3 separate regions of the Homo sapiens genome follow, and all the other regions are linked to region 3. Evidence: promoter capture Hi-C in 16 types of primary human blood cells and fetal thymus (Javierre and others, 2016). All regions are on one chromosome and are shown on one strand. The core of a region is centred on a gene start or on the middle of the fragment in contact, and the rest is flanking DNA. Distances in the headings are between cores, read along the strand shown.

Region 1 (2,700 bases), core at 132-2,631, 220 kb after region 3:
AGAGAATTGGGGAAATAAATAATGTTTTTGTTAGACTAACATTCCATGTATTTAAAAAATAAAAATATTTTGGTCCTCATCCTGTATCTGAGAATATCTGTTGCTGGATGTACAGTGCCTCTGTTCTTCTAAATCTTGAAACATCTGCTGTACTGGTATTTCTGAAGTCCACTTCTGTATCTACAAGCAAGAAGTGTTCACAGGGCCAGGCACGGTGTCTCACGCCAGTAATCCTAGCACTTTGGGAGGAGGATCACTTGAGGTCAGGAGTTGGAGACCAGCCTGGCCAACATGGTGAAACCCTGTCTCTACTAAAAATAAAAAATTAGCCAGGCGTGGTGGCACACGCCTGTAATCCCAGCTACTCGGGAGGCTGAGGCAGGAGAATTGCTTGAACCTGGGAGGTGGAGGTTGCAGTGAGCCGAGATCACACCACTGCACTCCAACCTGGGGGACAGAGCAAGACTCCATCTCAAAACCTTGTGGGGAACATGTATAGGTTTGCCCTGCAGTATCAGGTCAGTTCTCTGAGAGCTGATTTTATAGTTGAGCAACCTGCAGTTTCTTATTAATCCACAGTGACAATTGTTCCAAGGTTTTTACCTTACTACTTTTTATTGTGCAGTTACAATAAAGACCTTTTAGACAAGGTGATGGAAATGGCCGATGGGATTGAAGTGGAAGACCTGCCACAATTTACTACCAGAAGTGAATTAATGAAAAAGGTAAATAGGATTTCCAAGTGCATGTGATGAAATGGTGTAGAGTTAACAGTCCCTGCCTTGATGACACTATATTAGAGTATATTGTTTTTGAATGCTCTTTACTGCCCCAAAGACCTATACCCTTTCATTTTTATTTCCCCATAATTGGTATAAGCCTTTTCATAAATAGTTGACAACTCACTGTGGTAAATTATGCATTGTTGATGAGGTAACACATAAGCTTAACCTCTTCCGGTTGTTTAGGAACATTGTTTTGAGATTTTTGCTTGATGTTTAAAAAGATGTTGGCTAGAATACTTAAGTTTCCTACTTGTTAAAAAATCTCATTGGTAAGACTCATCCTTACCCCAGGTGTGAGTGCCGGTGTGAGTGCCGACCTGACTTGTTTGGCTTCTGTGATTTGCTGATAAGAACGTGCCTGGAGCAATGTCGATGGCATAGCTGTTCTCTACCCTTTGGGGTCTGATCTCAGGCGATGGGCTTTTTACAGTGAGTCTTGCCTAGAGTCTTGAATCTGGACACTGGAGCTGGGGCTACAGAATGTGGCAGAAAGAACCTCAGAATATGGAGCTGGGCATCCCAGCTATTAATACTTTTCAGAATCACCTCCAAAACATGCTTGTTTCACATTTGTCTGCTCAGGCAGCAGAATTAATTGCTCGCTTATCTTCTGAAGTTCCTTTGGCACTTTATCCAGGGCTCTTTTAAAGCAGTTGTGACCTTACAGATGGTGTCTAAAGTTCTATTTAGTCTTTACAACTCCCAAACCTAGTATACTTATACCCCAGAGAAGGTACTCAGAAAATACTTATAAAATCGACTGAAGCAGTAGAGTAAAAAGCTGCTGGCCCCTTTTTAGGTCTGCCCTTAGAAACATAGGTAAGCCCATTCCTCCACATTTAGGTCTTGTCTTGGGAGGTGGGGCACATATAGAGGTCCTCTTCCATATGGGTGTCAAGGAACTAATCAGATTCTCAGTTGCTCATAAAGTATTTCAGTCCCAAATAGTACACCCCACTTGATTTTCAGGATGGTTTGTTTTTCTTAAAAAAGTATTCTTTTAGTTTTAATCTGAACCTGGGGAAAAGCTTCAGGTTGGTTTTCGAGATGCTATTATGTTTTAAAATCAGCTGTTACCTCAACACAGTACTCCTGACAAAAAATCAGTAAGTAAAATCAGCTGTTTTTTTGTTTTTGTTTGTTTGTTTGTTTGTTTTTGAGAGGGAGTCTCCCTGTGTCGCCCAGGCTGGAGTGAGGTGGTGCGATCTGGGCTCACTGCAAGCTCTGCCTCCCAGGTTCACACCATTCTCCTGCCTCAGCCTCCTGAGTAGCTGGGACTACAGGCGCCTGCCACCACGCCCAGCCAATTTTTTTTTTTTTTTTTTTTTTGTATTTTTAGTAGAGACGGGGTTTCACCGTGTTAGCCAGGATGGTCTCGATCTCCTGACCTCGTGATCCGCCCGCCTCGGCCTCCCAAAGTGCTGGGATTACAGGTGTGAGCCACCGCACCAGGACTAAAATCAGCTGTTAAAAAGGGGCTACTGTTTTTAGCCAGGGAGCAGTGTGAATTGGGAGTGTGTGGCTTTTTGGATCTTCTCATGTAATACTTAAAAAAATACTGGGCAGTCCTTGGGTGTTCTATAGTAAGGTTCTTGGGGCCCAGCCAGGGAGGAGCTAGATAGTTTCTGGCTACTGGAGTATACCTTATGGGGCAGGGGCAGGGGCAGAGGTAGGCAGGGAATGAGGTGAGCCTTTATTTTTAATTTATTTTTTAGATAGAGGCTCACTTTGTCACCCAGGCTGGAGTGCAGTGGCACGATCTCAGCTCACTGCAACCTCTGCCTCCCAGGCTCAAGTGATTCTAGCGCCACAGCCTCCCCAGTAGCTGGGATTACAGCCGGGTGCCACCATACCCAGCTAATTTTTGTATTTTTAGTAGAGAAAGGGTTTTGCCATGTTGTCCAGGCTGGTCTTG
Region 2 (2,700 bases), core at 4-2,503, 240 kb after region 3:
GTATATTTTCCATTTTCTATACTATTTGAAGGCATAGGATAGTTTTGTATTAGCTTTCTACAATACTGTGTTTTAAATTTATCCAGTAAACTAAGATGCAGTACAACTTTTATACAACTCAGGAGATTAAAAAAAAAATCTCCACAAGAAGAAGCAACTCAGCAGGCCCTGGCATTAAAACATTTCCCAGAATAAACAGATATGCATTGCATTAAAGGTAATTTTCAAATATTTAAGTTACACCAAGATTTCCCTCCAATATGTGCCTTTCTCAAACCAATGCAACTAATTCATTGCTAATACTGGGGCATGAATTTTTGGCAAATGTTTATGGTTTTACTTTCTTCATTAATCAAAAAATTTTTTAAAGTGCTACCAAGCAGCAAAACAAGTCGCATCAGTTCTCTGCTCATGGCAGAAGTGCCAACTGTGAAATCGCAAAAGGTACAGTTTTAACAGTAAGTAATGCATGAAGAAACTGTAACAAATGGCCTAAATACAGAGTTGGACAGAGTCAAACCAGTTATGTCTAGAATTACTCAATTGAAACTAATAGAGGTACATTCAAAATAAAGTTGGAGATTATAATCGCTATTTAGAATCAAATTTGAAGACTTCCTTGATAAAATATAAGAATGTTCTTTTGAAATTGTAAATGAAACTATCAATAGATGGAGAGCTAGAGACTTATTAACCCCTCCTACACACATAAGGAAATAAGTGACAAAGTCTCTTGCACTGAAGTTATGTATTTTAACAGCTTTACATGTAATATTCATATATAAAAAACTTTAAGTGCTTTTCTCCAATTTAAAAATCTAAAGAATTCAAAAATAAGGCATTCAATATTTGAAAAAAGTACAGATTTACAAAATGTGTATATTCTGTCATGAAAACTCCACACCAACATTATACACTTGGAAAAAAATACAAACAGGATATATTACAAATTTATGCAGCAATAACTTAGTTCACACCATGCAATAAAAAGTACATTAATCAAGATACACAAGCTTTTGTAGGTTCTAAACTGAAGGACTTTTTTCTTTTTTTTCTGCAGAATCCTTAAAACCTGTGGCACTTAAAATTTGTTAGCCTTTCTAATGAGAGGTAAATTATACACAACAATGATGAAAAAGATTAACAGACCAGTTGTCTATTATGAATCATTCCAGCTTTGTTCAACAATGGCCGAAACTCTTTTCTCATATTCTCGTTTGTTTTCCTGATAAAGCTGTGCTGCCTGGCTATTGGCTGGACTGTTAGGATTCGGTTCATCCAGCAGAGACTAGGAGGAAAGAAAAGAAAAAACAGATTTGCATAGTTGTTCTTTATACCAACAGGGGTCAGATATGGAATATATTACAGAAAAGTTATACAAAACAACAAATTACTTCAGAGATTAACATGTCATATAATTTTGGGTCTAAATACTTTTAGAAATGATTTGATAAATACTATGGGGTTTCCTGCTGCTAAGGAACTTAAGCTTCTGAAATAAAGTTCTCAATTGCCTTAAGACCTATAATTTCAGCTGGGTACAGTGGCTTGTGCCTGTAATCCTAACACTTTGGGAGGCCAAGGCAGGAGGATCCCTTGAGCCCAGCAGTTCAAGCCCAGCCTGGGCAACATAGGGAGACCCTGTTTCTATTAAAAAAGAAAAAGAGGTCGGGTGTGGTGGCTCACGCCTGTAATCCCAGCACTGTGGGAGGCCGAGGCGGGCAGATCACCTGAGGTAGGGAGTTCGAGACCAGCCTGACCAACATGGAGAAAACCCCGTAATTTCTAAAAATACAAAATTAGCCGGGTGTGGTGGCGCATGCCCGTAATCCGCTACTCGGAAGGCTGAGGCAGGAGAATTGCTTGAACCCGGGAGGCAGAGGTTGCAGTGAGCTGAGATCGCGCCACTGTACTCCAGCCTGGGCAACAAGGGTGAAATTCCGTCTCAAAAAAAAAAAAAAGAAAAAAGAAAAGAAAAAAATACCTATAATTTGAAAGAAATCAGAAAAGAATATTCTTAAGCATATTGAGACGTTCTCATTAAACCAAGGAAATAAACAGCTTAATTTGGTTAAGATATCAATAATTCTCAGTAACCAACATTTTCCAAGGTTAAACTCTATTACTGCAGTTACTTTGCAAATGTCTTGACAGTAAATTTGGGAGATAAGTCTTATTTCCTTTAATCAACAAAACATATACATTTAGCAGGAAGAGAATGAGATAGGAAGGTTGAAAAACAACGCTTGTAAGATGACCAGAACTGGCCTGGTGCAGTAGCTCACGCCTGTAATCCCAACACTTTCGGAGGCTCAGACGGGCGGATCATGAGGTCAGATGGAGACCATCCTGGCTAACACTGTGAAACCCCATCTCTACTAAAAATACAAAAACTTAGCCAGGCGTGGTAGCATGTGCCTATAGTCCTAGCTACTCAGGAGGCTGAGGCAGGATAATCACTTGAACCCGGGAGGCAGAGGTTGCGGTGAGCCAAGATTGTGCCATTGCACTCCAGTCTGGGCAACAGAGCAAGACACTGTCTCAAAAAAAAAAAAAAAAAAAAAAACAATTAAAGAAGTGTGAGAGAAAAAACTTTAAAAAGAACATCACAAACCAACATATTATTTCTGCTCCTCTCAAATCCACAAAACCGAAACACCCCTCACTCCACCCCTCCTAAATTTTCATTCAAAGATCTAT
Region 3 (2,700 bases), core at 81-2,580:
TTTTTAATTTAATTAATTTATTTATTTTTTGAGACGGAGACAGAGTCTCGCTCTGTCGCCCAGGCTAGAGTGCAATGGTGCAATCTCGGCTCACTGCAACCTCCACCTCCCGGGTTCAAGCAATTCTCCTGCCTCGGCCTACCGAGTAGCTGGCGTTACAGGCACCTGCCATCATGCCTGGGTAATTTTCGTATTTTTGTAGAGATGGGGTTTCACCATGTTGGCCAGGCTGGTCTTGAACTCTAACCTCAGGTGATTCACCCACCTTGACCTCCCAAAGTGCTGAGATTACAGGTGTGAACCACCGCGCCTGGCCAAGACCGTCTATAAAACAACTGAATAACCAGCTGAATAAAAGCTGAATAACCAGCATCCAACACATTATCTGGTACGTAGCTACATTGTGTAAATCACTGGTGAATTCAATAAGCACAAATAACAAAAAAAGAAAAAAAAATGAATTCAATAAGCACGTGTACTTTGAAAATGTATTTTAGGCAGGGCGCGGTGGTGATCCCAGCACTTTGGGAGGCTGAGGCAGGTGGATCACTTATGCTAGGGAGTTTGAGACCAGCCTGGCCAACATGATGAAACCCGGTCTCTACTAAAAATACAAAAATTAGCCGGGCGCAGTGGCTCACGCCTGTAATCCTAGCACTTTGGGAGGCCGAGGCGGGCGGTTCACTTTAGGTCAAGAGTTCGAGACCAGCCTGGCCAACATGGTGAAACCCCGTCTCTACTAAAAATACAAAAATTAGCCGGGCATGGTGGTGCGCGCCTGTGCTCCCAGCTACTCAGGAGGCTGAGGTAGAAGAATCGCTTGAACCCGGGAGGCGGAGGTTACAGTGAGCTGAGATCGCGCCATTGCACTCCAGCCTGGGCGACAAAATCGAGGCTCCGTTTCAAAAAAAAAAAAAATTAGCCGGACAGTGGTGGCGGGTGCCTGTAGTCCCCGCTACTGGGGAGGCTGAGGTAGGAGAATCTCTTGAATCCAGGGGGTGGAGGCTGCAGTGAGCCGAGATCGTGCCACTGCACCCCAGCCTGGGAGACAGAGCGAGACAACGTCTCAAAAAAAAAAAATGCCAAAAGTAATTTCCCCTAGGGAGGCATGGGGTGTTCCTTTCTCGGCACGCAGGCCCCTAAAATCCCTTCGGGCGGGCGGGTGTGGGGAGACCAGGCGGCTGGGAGACCCAGGCGGTGTTAGGGGTTGCGAGCAGCCTCGCTCAACTGGGGAATTGGCGGCAAGACTGCCAGGAGGCGGAACCTAGGGCGCTCGGCGACGCGGTCCTGCGGACTGTCGCTAGTGAGGCACCCGCCGGCCCGGAAGGGGCTGATGCGAACTGGGGCCACGGCAGCCATCGCGCTTTGCAGTTCGGTCTCCTGGTGTACGGCCAACGCCAAGTAGGGGATTGCGTTCCCTCCAGTCGCAGGTGAGTGACAGCCCCTCCTTCTGGGAGGACCGGTGGGCAGCAGCTATGGATCCCCTAGAAGGCGCACTTTTAGGGCCAAGACCTACTCTGAGTCCCTGCCTGTGGCACTGCGTGAAGGGGCGCCTGTTTTTCACCCCGGGGTTAGGCGGCGCGAGGGAGGACAGGTCTCATCCATGCTCCGCGGGGCCGTCTGATAGCCCTCGAGGCAGAACACTGCTGCTGTCAGACGCTTGGTCTTTTCAGGAAAGAACGAGGTGGCTGCAGGCAAGCCCCTTCCTTCCCCTGGGCCTCAGTTTCCTTACCTGGTAAGGTGAAGGTGGCGGGTCTCACTGACAGCTGAAGAGGCTGTGACACGGCCTGGTGTTTTCAGCGCTCCCAATTAGTGTAGAGGCAAATTGAGCTTCCTTACTAGTACTGGTTAACGTTTTCCGTAGCCCAAAGTCCCAGTTAAGTGGAAAAAAGATACACTGTTGAGAAAACTGTACTGATTTTTGTTTTAATTTTTTAAATTTTTGTTGTTGTTTTGAGACAGAGTTTCCCTCTTGTCGCCCAGGCTGGAGTGAAGTGGCACGATCTCGGCTTACTGCAAGCTCCGCCTCCCGGGTTCACGCCATTCTCCTGCCTCAGCCTCCCGAGTAGCTGGGACTACAGGTGCCCGCCACCACGCACCGCTAATTTTTTTGTATTTTTTAGTAGAGATGGGGTTTCACCGTGTTAGCCAGGATGGTCTCTTATCTCCTGACCTCGTGATCCGCCTGCCTCGGCCTCCCAAAGTGCTGGGATTATAGGCGTGAGCCACCGCATCCGGTCTAACTTTTCTATTTTTAGTAGAGATGGGATTTCTCTATGTTGGCCAGTCTGGTCTCCAACTCCTGACCTCAGGTGATCTGCTCGCCTCGGCCTCCCAAAGTGCTGGGATTAAAGGCATGAGCCACCTCAGTGGGCCACTGTACTGATTTTTAAGGTGTTGAAGCTTTTCCAAGAAGATTTGTTTTAAAACAGCTAAAACTTTGACATTGTTAGCTGAAAGAACCAAATTCGTCAGCAATTTAAGGTGTTTGGTACAGTGGACAAAATGAGGTGAAGAAGTCCTTTTAACTTGAAAAATTAAACATAGTATTATTTATTTGTGTGTTCTTACATCAGCCTCTATATTACTAAGTGTCTTTGAAGACGTCCTATATTCCGTGTTAAAGTATCAGTGAAGAGTAGGTCACATTGAAACAATGAAAGAAGGAAAGAAAAGGAACATTTATTGACTACTATGAGT

What was found. Contacts are between HindIII fragments. The CHiCAGO score rates a contact against its expected background, and 5 or more counts as called.
Region 1: a contact is called between a fragment that was not itself captured here and the fragment with the promoter of SAR1B in region 3, in 5 of 17 cell types (total CD8 T cells, activated CD4 T cells, naive CD8 T cells and 2 more). The highest score is 7.8, in total CD8 T cells.
Region 2: a fragment that was not itself captured here is called in contact with the fragment with the promoter of SAR1B in region 3 in 4 of 17 cell types (activated CD4 T cells, megakaryocytes, M0 macrophages and 1 more); the score reaches 5.4 in activated CD4 T cells.

What each region holds. Positions count from the first base shown.
Region 1 is chr5:134,407,928-134,410,627 of GRCh38, reverse strand. CDKN2AIPNL (CDKN2A interacting protein N-terminal like) reads left to right here. Exons shown (of 3, transcript NM_080656.3): 2 at 626-725. Among named protein-coding and RNA genes, the nearest start is that of CDKN2AIPNL, 2.6 kb to the left of the region's middle. The HindIII fragment of the contact is 868 bases long and covers 948-1,815 here.
Region 2 is chr5:134,388,813-134,391,512 of GRCh38, reverse strand. It overlaps UBE2B (ubiquitin conjugating enzyme E2 B), which reads right to left. Exons shown (of 6, transcript NM_003337.4): 6 at 1-1,288. The coding sequence ends at 1,160. Among named protein-coding and RNA genes, the nearest start is that of UBE2B, 19 kb to the right of the region's middle. The HindIII fragment of the contact is 476 bases long and covers 1,016-1,491 here.
Region 3 is chr5:134,631,458-134,634,157 of GRCh38, reverse strand. SAR1B (secretion associated Ras related GTPase 1B) reads left to right here and starts at 1,330. Exons shown (of 7, transcript NM_016103.4): 1 at 1,330-1,430. RefSeq lists an enhancer at 879-1,435 and silencers at 1,409-1,458, 1,509-1,618. The HindIII fragment of the contact is 3,405 bases long and covers 1-2,405 here.